Regions from separate parts of the Homo sapiens genome. Here regions 2, 3 and 4 are each linked to region 1. Evidence: promoter capture Hi-C in 16 types of primary human blood cells and fetal thymus (Javierre and others, 2016). All regions are on one chromosome and are shown on one strand. Each heading gives the region's core, a stretch centred on a gene start or on the middle of the fragment in contact. The rest is flanking DNA. Distances are from core to core; before and after follow the strand shown.

The links. The method cuts DNA at HindIII sites, captures the fragments that hold promoters and counts their contacts. A CHiCAGO score of 5 or more calls a contact.
Region 2: a contact is called between a fragment that was not itself captured here and the fragment with the promoter of INCA1 in region 1, in 3 of 17 cell types (neutrophils, erythroblasts and M0 macrophages). The highest score is 5.6, in neutrophils.
Region 3: a contact is called between a fragment that was not itself captured here and the fragment with the promoter of INCA1 in region 1, in 1 of 17 cell types (neutrophils). The highest score is 6.6, in neutrophils.
Region 4: a fragment that was not itself captured here is called in contact with the fragment with the promoter of INCA1 in region 1 in 1 of 17 cell types (naive B cells); the score reaches 5.2 in naive B cells.

Annotation. Positions count from the first base shown.
Region 1 is chr17:4,996,272-4,999,201 of GRCh38, reverse strand. It overlaps INCA1 (inhibitor of CDK, cyclin A1 interacting protein 1), which reads left to right and starts at 1,680. Exons shown (of 7, transcript NM_001394789.1): 1 at 1,680-1,706. It overlaps KIF1C (kinesin family member 1C), which reads right to left and starts at 1,252. Exons shown (of 23, transcript NM_006612.6): 1 at 1,046-1,252. RefSeq lists silencers at 790-889, 940-1,809, 1,850-1,939. The HindIII fragment of the contact is 6,815 bases long and covers 1,094-2,930 here.
Region 2 is chr17:4,720,579-4,723,471 of GRCh38, reverse strand. It overlaps ARRB2 (arrestin beta 2), which reads right to left. Exons shown (of 15, transcript NM_004313.4): 14 at 2,832-2,886; 15 at 1,975-2,526. The coding sequence ends at 2,433. Among named protein-coding and RNA genes, the nearest start is that of MED11, 9.4 kb to the left of the region's middle. The HindIII fragment of the contact is 1,837 bases long and covers 482-2,318 here.
Region 3 is chr17:4,569,651-4,572,678 of GRCh38, reverse strand. It overlaps the pseudogene TXNP4. Among named protein-coding and RNA genes, the nearest start is that of GGT6, 11 kb to the right of the region's middle. The HindIII fragment of the contact is 2,474 bases long and covers 189-2,662 here.
Region 4 is chr17:5,406,761-5,410,068 of GRCh38, reverse strand. It overlaps NUP88 (nucleoporin 88), which reads left to right. Exons shown (of 17, transcript NM_002532.6): 5 at 1,160-1,336. Among named protein-coding and RNA genes, the nearest start is that of NUP88, 11 kb to the left of the region's middle. The HindIII fragment of the contact is 236 bases long and covers 1,936-2,171 here.

The sequences.
Region 1 (2,930 bases), core at 431-2,930:
GGATCCACAGGGCCAGCTGTGTGGGCTCTAAGCCCCTTGCCCAGCCCCCAGCACTTCCTCCTCAGGATCCGGGACAATGAGCAGGGGAGGGTGGGGTCATCCTGTAGCCATCAGACCAACCCTCAGGGCTCCACCCTTGGGGCGCCCAGAAATACCTGTGTTTGAGGGTAGAGGGTCCCTGGGGCCTCCCTAAAAGGGAGAAAGAAAAGGAAGCCGGCTGGCTGGTGCCAGCCCCAACCTGGGGCTAGTGCTATGGCGTCCACTGCCCTGGGGAAGGTGCCAGGCTGGAGCCCAGGAATGTGGGTGATCGGGTGCCCACACCCTGGGAGGAGAGGCTGAGCAGCCCACGCCCACGGACAACAGGGAGGAGGACCACGAAGGATAAGGGATGCGGAGCCCCCTCCTGTGGCCCCAGTGGACCCCAAACTCCTGTCACGCTGGGCCTCCCCTCACCAGTCTTCCTGGGCAGAGCATGGGAGGGTGAGGGGCTGGTCTGTCCCAGGACAGGAAGGGAGTAGCTGGAATCACAGAAGCTGGCTCAGGAAGAACAGCCCTGACCCCCTAGACCCTGACCAGGGGAGGGAAGGACACTGGTGGGGACAAGCGATGGTGACGCCGTTGCTGCAGCTAATGGGACAGGGATGGGGTGGCACGGCTGGGGGCCAGCGGGGTAAGGGAATAGAGGTAGGGACAGGGGTCGGCCGGTGCAGCTGTGAAGGAGCCGTGGGGTACAAGGAGGATACTGGGCGGCTGGGGTGGGGCCGACCGGCCCGAAAGGGGGTCTTGGGCCACCTGCACCTTGCCCACCCGGCGGTTCTCACACAGGTCCCCGCCCGGCCTCTCAGGGCGGCCATGCGGACCCGTCCTCCTGTCCAGCCAGCCGGCGGCCGCCCGGGCCTGGCACCTCTCTGCGCCTCCGCGGAACAAACAGCACATGATCCCGACTCTTGAGCCTAGATCGCGCCGCCGGACCCCGGCTCCCCGCCCCCCAACCCGGCACATTCCTCCGCGGGCGTCCCTTCCCTCCCCCTTCCCCAGCCCTCACCTCGGCGCGGCGGGGCTCCCGGAGCAGCTCGGCGGAGAGGGACAAGCTTTCCGGGAAGCGTGAGGCGGAAGCGGGAAGGATCTGGGGCCGGTTCGGAGCTGCCCCCGCCCCTCGCCGGGTGCCCGGGCGGCGGGCGGCGGACTCGCGCCCCGGGGGCGGCAGCAGTAGCGGCGCCAGCGGCCGGCGCCCGCCCGGGCAGCGCGAGCTGGGGCGGGAGCGAGGGGCGGGGGACGCGCGAGCGCGCGCGGAGGGGCGGGTACGCGCGGTCCCGGGAAGGAGCCGGGAGCGACCCGGGCTACTCTTGTTAAAGGGGCAACGCTCCTGGCCTGTGGGGCCCAGCGAGCGGGAACGTGGGGACCGAGCTGCGGACGCAGAAGGGCGAGCAGACGCCGCAACCCAGGAGGGTTGCAGACGCCTGAAGAACAGGGAAACGTCGGGGGCTGACCCGCGGGGGCACCCAGGCCCCGGCCCAGTTCCCGTCGCCGCCGTTGGAGGCGCGTCCAGGGGGCGGAGCCTCCTGCCGAGGCCCGCCCAGAAGGTGGCTCCGCTCAGGCCCCGCCCTCAGACGAGCACCGCCCGCCGGCTCCTCCCGCGGCTCGAATCGCCGTCTCTCTCCTCCCCGCCCCGCCGAGTTCTAGAATTCGCCGCGCAGCTGCTTCAGGTGCTGGGGCCAAATGCGGCCGGCCGTGGCGCGGCTACTCGGGCGCTCTGTCCCCGCCTGGCCCTCAAGTTCGGCCGCCCTGGACGCCGCCTGAGGCCCAAACAACCCCTTCAGGCCCGGGTGCCGCCTAAGGCCGGAGCTGCCCTCTCAGACCCGGGGCGTCCCTCAGGCCCCAGCCTGCCCTTCAGCCTGGGCCCACCACCTCAGGGCCCCTCTCGAGGGAAGCAGCCCCCAGTCGTGCCCTCGGGCGGGGCTGCCCGGAAGGTCCGGCCACGCCCGGTCCACCTGTCGAGGGTCCCCGTCGCCCTTTCAGGCGCAGGCCGCGCCCTCCGGCCCGGCGCTTCCCTCCAGCGGGGCTCCAGGCAGCCCCTCAGCCCCAGCCGGACCCTCGGGTCCTCATCCACCCTCGCAGGCGCAGGCCGTGGCTACCCCGAAGTCAACTGTGGAGGATCCTTCCTGGCTTCCTTCAGCTCCATCCTGCCCTTGGATCTAGGTCACCCGCTTGGACCCAACTATCTGAGGCCCGAATGCCCCGCAGCTCCCGCTGCTCCCTCGCGTTCTGCTGACCCCCCTCCGAGTCAGGACATCCCCTTTAGACCCCACTTTAGGCCCTTTCAGCCCAACTCCAACTAGCCCCATCTGCCGCTTCCGCACGGTATACTTCTCTCCGCTTTTGACCTCACCTGCTTTCCCAGCCCATCCCTAGTTCCCTTGGATAAATACTAGTTCACCTCTACAGTTCCAGCTGGCTGCTTCTGTCCTTCGGGAGCCTATGTGCACTCTCTCCTAACTTATCTAGTATTCTTTTTTTTTTTTTTTTTTTTTTTTTGAGACGGAGTCTTGCTCTGTTGCCCAGGCTGACCTCGGCTCACGGCAACCTCCGCCTCCTGGGTTCAAGCGATTCTCCTGCCTCAGCCTCCCGAATAGCTGGGATTACAGATGCCTGCCACCACACCCGGCTAATTTTTGTATTTTTAGTAGAGACTGGGTTTCGCTGTGTTGGCCAGGCTGGTCTCGAACTCCTGACCTCAAGTGATCCGCCCACCTCAGCCTCCCAAAGTGCTGGGATTACAGTCTTGAGCCACCGCGCCTGGCTTTTTTTTTTTTCTTCTTAGAAACAGGGTCTCACTCTGACGCCTAGGCTGGAGTGCAGTGCAGTGGTGCGATCTTACCTCACTGCAGCCTTGACCTCCCGGGCTCAGATGACACTCCCACCTCAGCCTT
Region 2 (2,893 bases), core at 151-2,650, 280 kb after region 1:
CGGCCAGGCGCGGTGGCTCACGCCTGTAATCCCAGCACTTTGGGGGGCCAAGGTGGGCGGATCAGGAGGTCAGGAGTTCGAGACCAGCCTGGCCAGTATGGCGAAACCTTGTCTTTACTAAAAATACAAAAATTAGCCAGGCGTGGTGGCGTGTGCCTGTAGTCCCAGTTACTCGGGAAGCTGAGGCAGAAGAATTGCTTGAACCTGGGAGGCAGAGGTTGCAGTGAGCCAAGATAGCACCATTGCATTCCAGCCTGGGTGAGAAAGCAAGACTCCATCTCAAAAAAAAAAAAAAAAAAATTGAGATACCTGGGCTTAGAGGTCAAGGAGCAGGTGCACGGGAGTCGGAGGGATGCTGGAGATGGTATTAGGCGGGATGGTTCTTCCGTTCTTCCGCATGAGAAAGTCCAGGTTCTGCAGGGGAGGCTGCCGCCGTGGCGGGGTAAGCAAGGTCACGGGCCTTTTGGCAGTACTTAAAGCTTGTGGGTAAATGGCGATTTAACTAGAAGTCACGAGTCATAACATAGACTAAAGGCCTGTGCGAGCTGTCCCCATCTGGCTCAGCAGCCAGAAGGAACTACTTTGCCTCTGGCTGTCTCTGTCCCAGTCTCTCTGGCCTCTTTAGGTCCCAGATGTGTTGTTTCCTCCTGCCTTCACACGACACTGCCATTGCCCAGAATGCTCATCCCTGGACGGTCCCCGAACTCCCCTCATCTTTCACTTCTCTGCTTAAAGGTCACTTTCTCAGGGAAATCTTCCCCAAACCCAACCTAGCTCAGAACTCCCTGTCACGCGTTCTCCTGGCTCCAGTACTTCTCCTCTGAAGCAAAGATATTGTAGTTAAATAACTAGGGAGGCCTGGCGCGGTGGCTCACACCTGTAATCCCAGCACTTTGGGAGGCCGAGGCGGGTGGACCACTTGAGGTGAGGAGTTTGAGAACAGCCTGACCAACATGGCGAAACCCCATCTCCACTAAAAATACAAAAATTAGCCGGGAGTTGTGGCGGGCGCCTGTAATCCCAGCTACTCCGGAGGCTGAGGCAGGAGAATCACTTGTACCTGGGAGGCGGAGGTTACAGTGAGCCGAGATGGCACCATTGCACTCCAGCCTGGACGACAGAGCAAGACTCTGTCTCAAAAGAAAAAAAAAAAAAAGGGAATGAATTAATGTGTTTTTGTTGTTGTTGTTGTTGTTGTACTGCTATACTATGCCTGGTACTTTGTAGGGACTCAAATCCAGATTGTTTGTGGAATGCATGAAGGAGCTTTAGGAGAAAGATTGGGCTTCAGGAGTGGAAGCAGATGATGGAGGTGAGAAATGTTCGTGGAGTGATGCTACCTCCCTCCAGCCCAGCCTGGGGCTTCGGTCAAGCCTCAGGGAGTCCCTGATGAATATCCCATGAACAGCACTAAGATGTGGTCCCTAGGACAGGGGCCCACGGCAGCATGACGTTCTTGCTGCCCAAGCCTCAGCTTCTGTGTTAGAATGTAGGTACCAGACTCCAGAGACGTCACGTGGCTTGTCTGGTGAGGCCTGCGGTTGTGGCACCGCTGAGCCACAGGAGCAGATGGCTCGAGCAGCCATAAGGAGCAGTGGAAATGAACGCGACTCGGTCACAACAGGTCACAGGTGGTCATGTGCGTCGGCCGCAACAGGGAAGGGCCTGCCCTGGCTAGCTCCCGTGAGCATCTGTGTGCAGGCGAGTTAGTTTAGTTACTGTGACCTCTAGAAATGACTAAGTTCACTTTGTGGCCTTATCAAGCCTCACCCTTGAGTTTGGACTAAGTCAAGTTTTGATGTTTACCCTGGAACACAGCCACAGCACAGTCATCCAATAAACATTTGCTGATAGCCTCCGTGTCAGGTGGCTTTTGGGTGCAGAAGAGAGACTGGGTCCTCCCCCACAAGCTAACAGAATCATGGATAAGCACACCATACACTCTCTAAACACTACAGAGAAAACACACACTCATGCTTAGTAAAAGATTTATTTTCTTCTTTATGCTCAGAAACAAAGAAACGGCCTTGTCCCCAAAGGGTCTCCTCTTGAAGGAATGGGGGCAGAGAGAGTGATAATGGGAGGTGTTGGTGTGAGGTTGAGAGTAGGAGTTTTGTCTCCCCCTTTCCCTCCTGTCACTCCTCTTTTCACTGTCCCCTTCCAGAAAATTTAGGTATGAACACAGCTTGCCACCCACGGCGGGGCTGGAGAAGCAGAGCTGCAGTCAAAAAATTAATGCCCACATTCAGCAAGAGAGGGTCCAGTGTGTATCTTGGGGGGATGGGGGAGAGAGTGTGAAGGGATTGGTTGAAGAAGCTTCCAGGTGAGGGGAAGGGAAGAGGGGCTGGGACAATCCCCCATTGACAGTGGGGATCTTAATCCTGCCCTCACCTCTCCCAACCCCATCCCCTCCCTTCTTCCCACCCCGCTTCCTAGCAGAGTTGATCATCATAGTCGTCATCCTTCATCCCCTTCAGCCGAAGCCGGGCAAAGTCCTCAAACACAATGTCATCATCTGTGGCATAGCTTGGTGGTGGGAAAGAGGGTTGTGAGGTGAGGGCTTCTGACTCTTGTCCCAGCCTCCCACTCCCTGCCCTCCCCGAAGCTAGGCCTCTGGGACAGAGGCGTTCGAACAGCAGTGGGACCAGAGGTATTTACAGGAAGGGACAAAGAAAAGGCAGCAAGAGGCAGCCTCACAAGGCTAAGGCATCTTGATTTGATGCTACAATCCGCTTCTCCCCACCAAAAGCAAGGAAGAGGTATGAGGGCAGATTTGAATGTTATAGGAATCTTTGTCCCAAGAGGGTCAAGTAGGGGAATGAGTTTCTTACTTGGTATCAAATTCAATGAGGTTGGTGTCCACAGGGACATCTGTCTCCGGAGCGGCTGGGGG
Region 3 (3,028 bases), core at 176-2,675, 430 kb after region 1:
TGGTCTTTGTCTTTTTTTAAAGTGTTAGAAATAATGTTTTATTGTCACCCAGATGGTATTTGAGTTTATAGTCTTCATGCTTTATATTTTTTTGTAAATTAAAAAAATTACAAGTTTTAAATAGCCAATGGCTGGTTATGTTTTCAGAAAACACGATTAGACTAATTCATGAATGGTGGCTTCAAGCTTTTCCTTATGGGCTCCAGAAAATTCACCCACCTTTTGTCCCTTCTTAAAACACTGGAATGTTGGCATGCATTCGGCTTCACACTCTGAAGCAACATCCTGACAGTCATCCACATCTACTTCAAGGAATACCACGCTGGAATACTTTCCAGAGAGGGGATAAAGAAAGGCTTGATCATTTTGCAAGGCCCACACCACGTGGCCGAGAAGTCAACTATTACAAGTTTATCGCCTGTGGCATCCAAGGCTTCCTAAAAAGCAAGTTTGCTCTCGATCTCCTTCACCATCTTGGCTGCTGAGGTCTGAGGAGCGGCTTTTTTTTTTTTAATAGGGAACTGACCGTATTCATTTGTAGCCTGTTACCCCATAATTCTTTAGGATGTTCAAAGCTGGAGTGACCATATGCCCGTCCCTGTTCCTCTTGACACTCAGTGAGAGGCAGCCATCTGAGTAAGTGGAAGTGTGATATTCGCTCCGGGCATTATGTCATGAGCCTTAAATCCAGAATACACTGGATTGAGTCTTTCAGCCCAATAGTTTGCCGCCGTTGCCAGATTTGGGAGCATCCGAGGAGAGACCTCAAATCATAATGGGGTGGTGCAGGGCTCCCCCATACTCAAAAAACTTTCCGTGTGTTTTCCAGGCAAGTGTCTTTCTCCTCGAATACAACAATCTTGGTTACAACTGACAGTAGTGCAATAGATCGGTCAGTACACTGATCCAGGAACATCTTGATGGTATAGCATGTTGTCATTCGCACTCTACCAGCCACTAGTCTAACCTGGTCGAGTAGCTTTTTCCAGGGACTCAAATTCTCCATTATCAAAGCACAGACAAGTGGTCCGACCCACGGTCTCGAATTAAACCAGTTAGTCACCAGCCCTGCGTTGTCATTGAGTGACAGGTTGGCACCATCCCTGTGTGTTGGTCGTTGGAGAGACACCATCAGGGTCTTGAATCATTTTTGAGCCTAGAGACTATTAGCATGCATTTTGTCCCTCGACCCTGCTACTATGTTGCCCACCGGGTCACAACAGTGCTGAGGTACAGATGATATCTCGAAGGATGTGAATTCCAGGTCCTTCCCGTTGAGGATTTCGCCATACAGTGTTTTGATTTTGTTCTTTCCACTACTGGAATCATAAGATACAACTCCCTGGAGAGTCCTACAGATAAGAGATTCTCACGTTAACACCTCAGACAAAAAGCAGAGAAACACCTAACTTGCTGTGATGGGATGAGGTGTGATCAATGGGTTGGATCGAGCATCAATTTGGGTGCTCTAAATTTTCCACTTCCCCAGTGCCAGGATGTGGTTCATCTACATAGGTTGGGTACTGCCCAAATTTCCCACTTAGCTCAAAGGACTTCCGCCCAGGAAATGGTCATGCAGAGGGAGGCTTGGAACTATCCACGGGGTCCTCCATGGTGAACTATAGTGTTGGCTGCGGGAGCAATCGGTTCCTTTGTTGTCTTAATTGTGGTGTCAGTTGCTGGCAATATACACAAAAATTGGTGACTTTTACTTTATGTAAATTATACCTCAGCTGGGCGCGGTGGCTCATGCCTGTAATCCCAGCACTTTGGGAGGCTGAGGTGGGTGGATCACGAGGTCAGGAGCTCGAGACCAGCCTGGCCAATATGGTGAAACCCTGTCTCTACTAAAAATACAAAAATTAGCTGGGCTTGGCGGTGGGCGCCTGTAGTCCCAGCTACTTGTGAGGCTGAGGCAGGAGAATTGCTTGAACCCGGGAGGCGAAGGTTGCAGTGAGCCGAGATTGTGCCACTGCACTCCAGACTGGGTGACAGAGCAAGACCCCGTCTCAAAAAAAAAAAAAAATATATATATATATATATATATAAATACCTCAATAAATCGGATTTTTAAAATCCAAGTCCTGGAGCAGTGGCTATGCCTATAATCCCAGCATTTTGGGAGGCCGAAGTGGGAAGATTGCTCAAGCCTAGGAGTTCAAAACCAGCCTGGTGAACATGACAAGACCCCATCTCTACAAAAAAAAGTTTTTAAATTCAGTGCATGAGAGATGTGCTGGCTGATAGTGGTTTTGATCACATCTTGAAGAGAGTTGGCTGCACTGGAAACTGGTACCCCTAAAATCTCTTGTAGGAAAAGGATGTGTGATTGTTTCCTATGGACCAGATGTGAGCTATGAGGGAGGGAGAACCAGCATCAGGCCACATTAAAACCTGCCCAACCTTGAGCAAGAGTTATTTAAAAAAACAAAACAAAACAAAAAAAGAATAAAACCTGCCCAGGAACACCACCTGGAGAGAAAGATGCGGCCCCAGCAGCAAGAAACTGATGCCTGAGCTGCTTGTGAGCCAAGAAGAGTTCAGCTATACCCGGGGAATTGGAGGTGAGACCCCAATAATGGGGTCGGCTGGAGGTCTTGGAAGGACTTTAAAAAGTGTCCCAATAGATAAAAAGTCAGCTGTATACAAAGCCCAGGAAGCTTCTGTACCAGCTCGTACAATACAAAATCAGATCTTTCCTGCCCCTTTTTACCTCTTCCCCCGCCATGTCAACCCTGGGGGTACAAAAGCAGCCAAGTGAGTGAGGAGGAGAATCCCAGGGTGTAGGAGCAGGTGGGGGTTGGAGGGTACATTGAGAAGTTAATTAGAGTCTCTCCCTCTTCACCATACCCTTTCATACACACACACACACATACACACACACACACACAGCCTTTTCCTGTTGCATGCTACTTGCCCAAAACAGACTGAGAAGGTGCAAGGGAGAAGTTTTTAACTTTAAATGGACTTTTACATTTGGGGGAGGGGCTGTGGGGTGTTTTGGGTTTTTTTGGCTTATACTTTTTTT
Region 4 (3,308 bases), core at 804-3,303, 410 kb before region 1:
CTCTCCATACCCCATTGATTTCCCAGAGTCTTTACCTATAAAGGGTCCACAGGTATGCCACCTGATTGCCTTTCCAGCTTCATTCCTCCCTCTGTGCCCTGGCTCTCTGGGCTCCAGGCACCTTGGCCTCCTTGCCATTCCACAGACATTAAGCACTTCTACCTTAGAGCATTTGCTCTCCACCTCAACTGCTCCTTCCCTAGTTAACCACAGACTTGCTCTCTTACTTCCTTCAGATCTTTGCTCAAATATCTTATCAGAGTCTTTCCTATACCAAGTAGTCTAAAGTAGCACCTCCATCAATACCCTCTTACCCTACTTTATTTTTCATGATATTTTCTGAGTTTATGTTCCATCTTTATTTCTTCTCTTTTTGTGGTATTTCTCTCTCTAGAGGGCAGGACATTTGTTTAATTCACTGACATATTCCCAGACCCTAGAAAAGTACCTGGCACAGAGTAGGTGCTTTGCGAGTATTTGTAGAACTTACGGATCCTGCTGCTCAGAGACAACTGTTGATGTTTTCATGTGTTTTCCTGTTTCCTTTTTGCATTTATGTGTGTGTATATAATAAATTTTTGCTATTTGTATATCTGTGTATTTAAACTATTTAAGATGAGAGTAGAACCAAATAATTTTATGGCCAGCTTTTTTCACTTAATTTCATGAGAATTTTTTTTTTTTTTTTTTTTTTGAGACGGAGTTTCGCTCTTGTCGCCCAGGCTGGAGTGCAATGGCACAATCTCGGCTCACTGCAACCTCCGCCTCCCAGGTTCAAGCAATTCTCCTGCCTTAGCCTCCCAAGTAGCTGGGACTACAGGCACCTGCCACCACGCCCAACTAATTTTTGTATTTTTAGTAGAAACGGGGTTTCACCATGTTGGCCAGGCTGGTCTCGAACTCCTGACCTCAGGTGATCCACCCACCTCGGCCTCCCAAATTGCTGGGATTACAGGCATGAGCCACTGCACCCAGCTGAGAATTTTTAAATGTTAACATTCTTCATAATCATTTTTTGTCTTTTCAGTCCATTGCCTACAAATTCCATACATACCCACCTCCTGTTATTAGACATTTTGTGTTTTTGTTTTGTTTTGTTTTTCTTTTTACTTTTTGTTGTTTTTGTTTTTAACAAGTTGGTTTTTACATCTCTTTCCAGAAGGGCGTATACCGCATCTCTAGGAGAGACAGCAGTTGCATTTGACTTTGGGCCATTGGCAGCAGTCCCAAAGACTCTATTTGGACAAAACGGCAAAGATGAAGTAGTGGCATACCCACTGTACATCTTATATGAAAATGGAGAGACTTTCCTGACATACATCAGTCTGTTACACAGGTAAGTTGAGGTGGTCACCCACCTGAAATGAAAACTCAGTTTGGGCTCCAGTAGATATCATTGAGGCTGGACTTGGGAGCCATGTTTTTGAGTCTGTGGAAATGTTGCAGCCTTCACATGCTTGGCTTGCATATTTTTGAGAAAGAGTTAGTACAGGTCATTTGGCCTTTCATTTCTTCATATTATTTGGGTAAGTTCTATAGAATTCTTGGATAATCACTTATGATAGGCCTGGATTTGTGTTCACAAATTCTAGTTATCCGAACAAGTGCTTATTGTTTATCTTATATGAACAAGACACCACGTAGGCGTGGTAATCTGGTATCTTATGTCCCAGTTGTGGGGAGAAAGATACATACACATGAAAAAATACTATCCATACCACAGTATTGGTACACAGACAGTAAGAACCCCGAGGAAGGAGAGATCATTCTGACTGGGAGGTTAAGGAAATTTTCGTAGAGAAGGAGTGGTGTCATGTGTGACTTAAAGGTCTCATTCAGGATTAAATGAAGTATCAAGGAAGAGTGAGACCATTTCTGTCAAGGGCAGCATAAAGTAGCGTCTGAAAATAAGCAAGTGCAAGTGTCATTCAAGCTTAATTTATTAGACATTCTGGGCTAGAGCTGAGGATTCATGTAGGGAGCATTAAGTGATAAAGCTGGAGTATCTGTCCCGAGAAAATTTGCTGGAATTAAAAATACCTCGTTAAAAGAGTGAGTGTGGGTTTTTTTTCTGTAGGAATAGGGTAGTAGGAAGCCAGTGATGGTTTCTGAACAGAAGGACAAAACAATTGGTTAGGGAGGGGACTGGGACAGAGACTTTTAAAGAAGCTTTTGCAAAATTGAGCTTGTCATTTATGAGAGTTTGAACTTGGGTGGTAATAGAACAGAGGGAAAAATGAAACACAGTAGATAACAACAAAGGAAGGATAAATAAGACTTAGTTACTGTTTGGATAAGGGAGTATGCCATGAACAGAAACAGGTCAGTAAAGGCTGCTAATTGGGGGAGAAGATTTATTTCTAAGTAAATCAGTGTAAGATAGTATTGGACCAATAAAATGGAAATATTCCATGGACAGTTGGAAATACAGGATGATGACAGACAAGAAGAATTAAAATAGAGGTATGAGAATCATCTTTCATGGTGAGAGAGTCTATACAGGATAAGAATTTGAGGGAAAACTGCAGAGGCATAAGGCTAAGGGCTGAGCATTAGAGTTTATTCGCTTGTAAATCGACTTAACAGATACTTATTCAGGACCCACTCTGGCAGAAGATGGAAATACAAGATTGAAGGCAAGGTTCCTGCCATGTGGTTCCTTAACTACCAGAAGGGCATACAACTAAACCAGTAACTATAGTACAGTGTCATGTGCTCAGGGCATCACCGGGTTCTTCAGGAGTGTGATGGAGTAAATGAGTAGGCCTGCTCATCTTGGAAGACTTTAAGGAAATGCTATTACAAAAGCTTGAACTTGAAGGATTCACTAGACAGAATCAGAAGTGGGTACAGGAGAGAGAAGAGAGTACGCAAAACCATAAAGATTAGAAAGATGAAAGAGCTCGGTAGGTTACAGAATGGTGAGGATTCACTGTTGAGTGCATTCTCCTTGGCAGAAATGTTCTCTGCCTTTCACACATGATCTCAGGAGGATTTTGTGGTAACTTTAGTACCTTCCCTTACCCTTTCTCCTCTTGCTGCTGAGCCCTCATTTGTCCAAACCATGATCTGCCTAGTAACGTTAGCCCAAAACCCAAAAGTTTTCTTCATCCTTACATTTCATCAGTCCCAAATTTCTATTGATTTTGTGATTTAAATTTTTCGAAAGTATACACCAAGCTTGTCCAACCCACGGGCTGCGCGCAGCCCAGGACAGCCTTGAATGCAGCCCAACGCAAATTTGTAAACTTTCTTAGAACATTATGATATTTGTTTGCGATTTTCTTTTCTTTTCTTTTTTTTTTAAA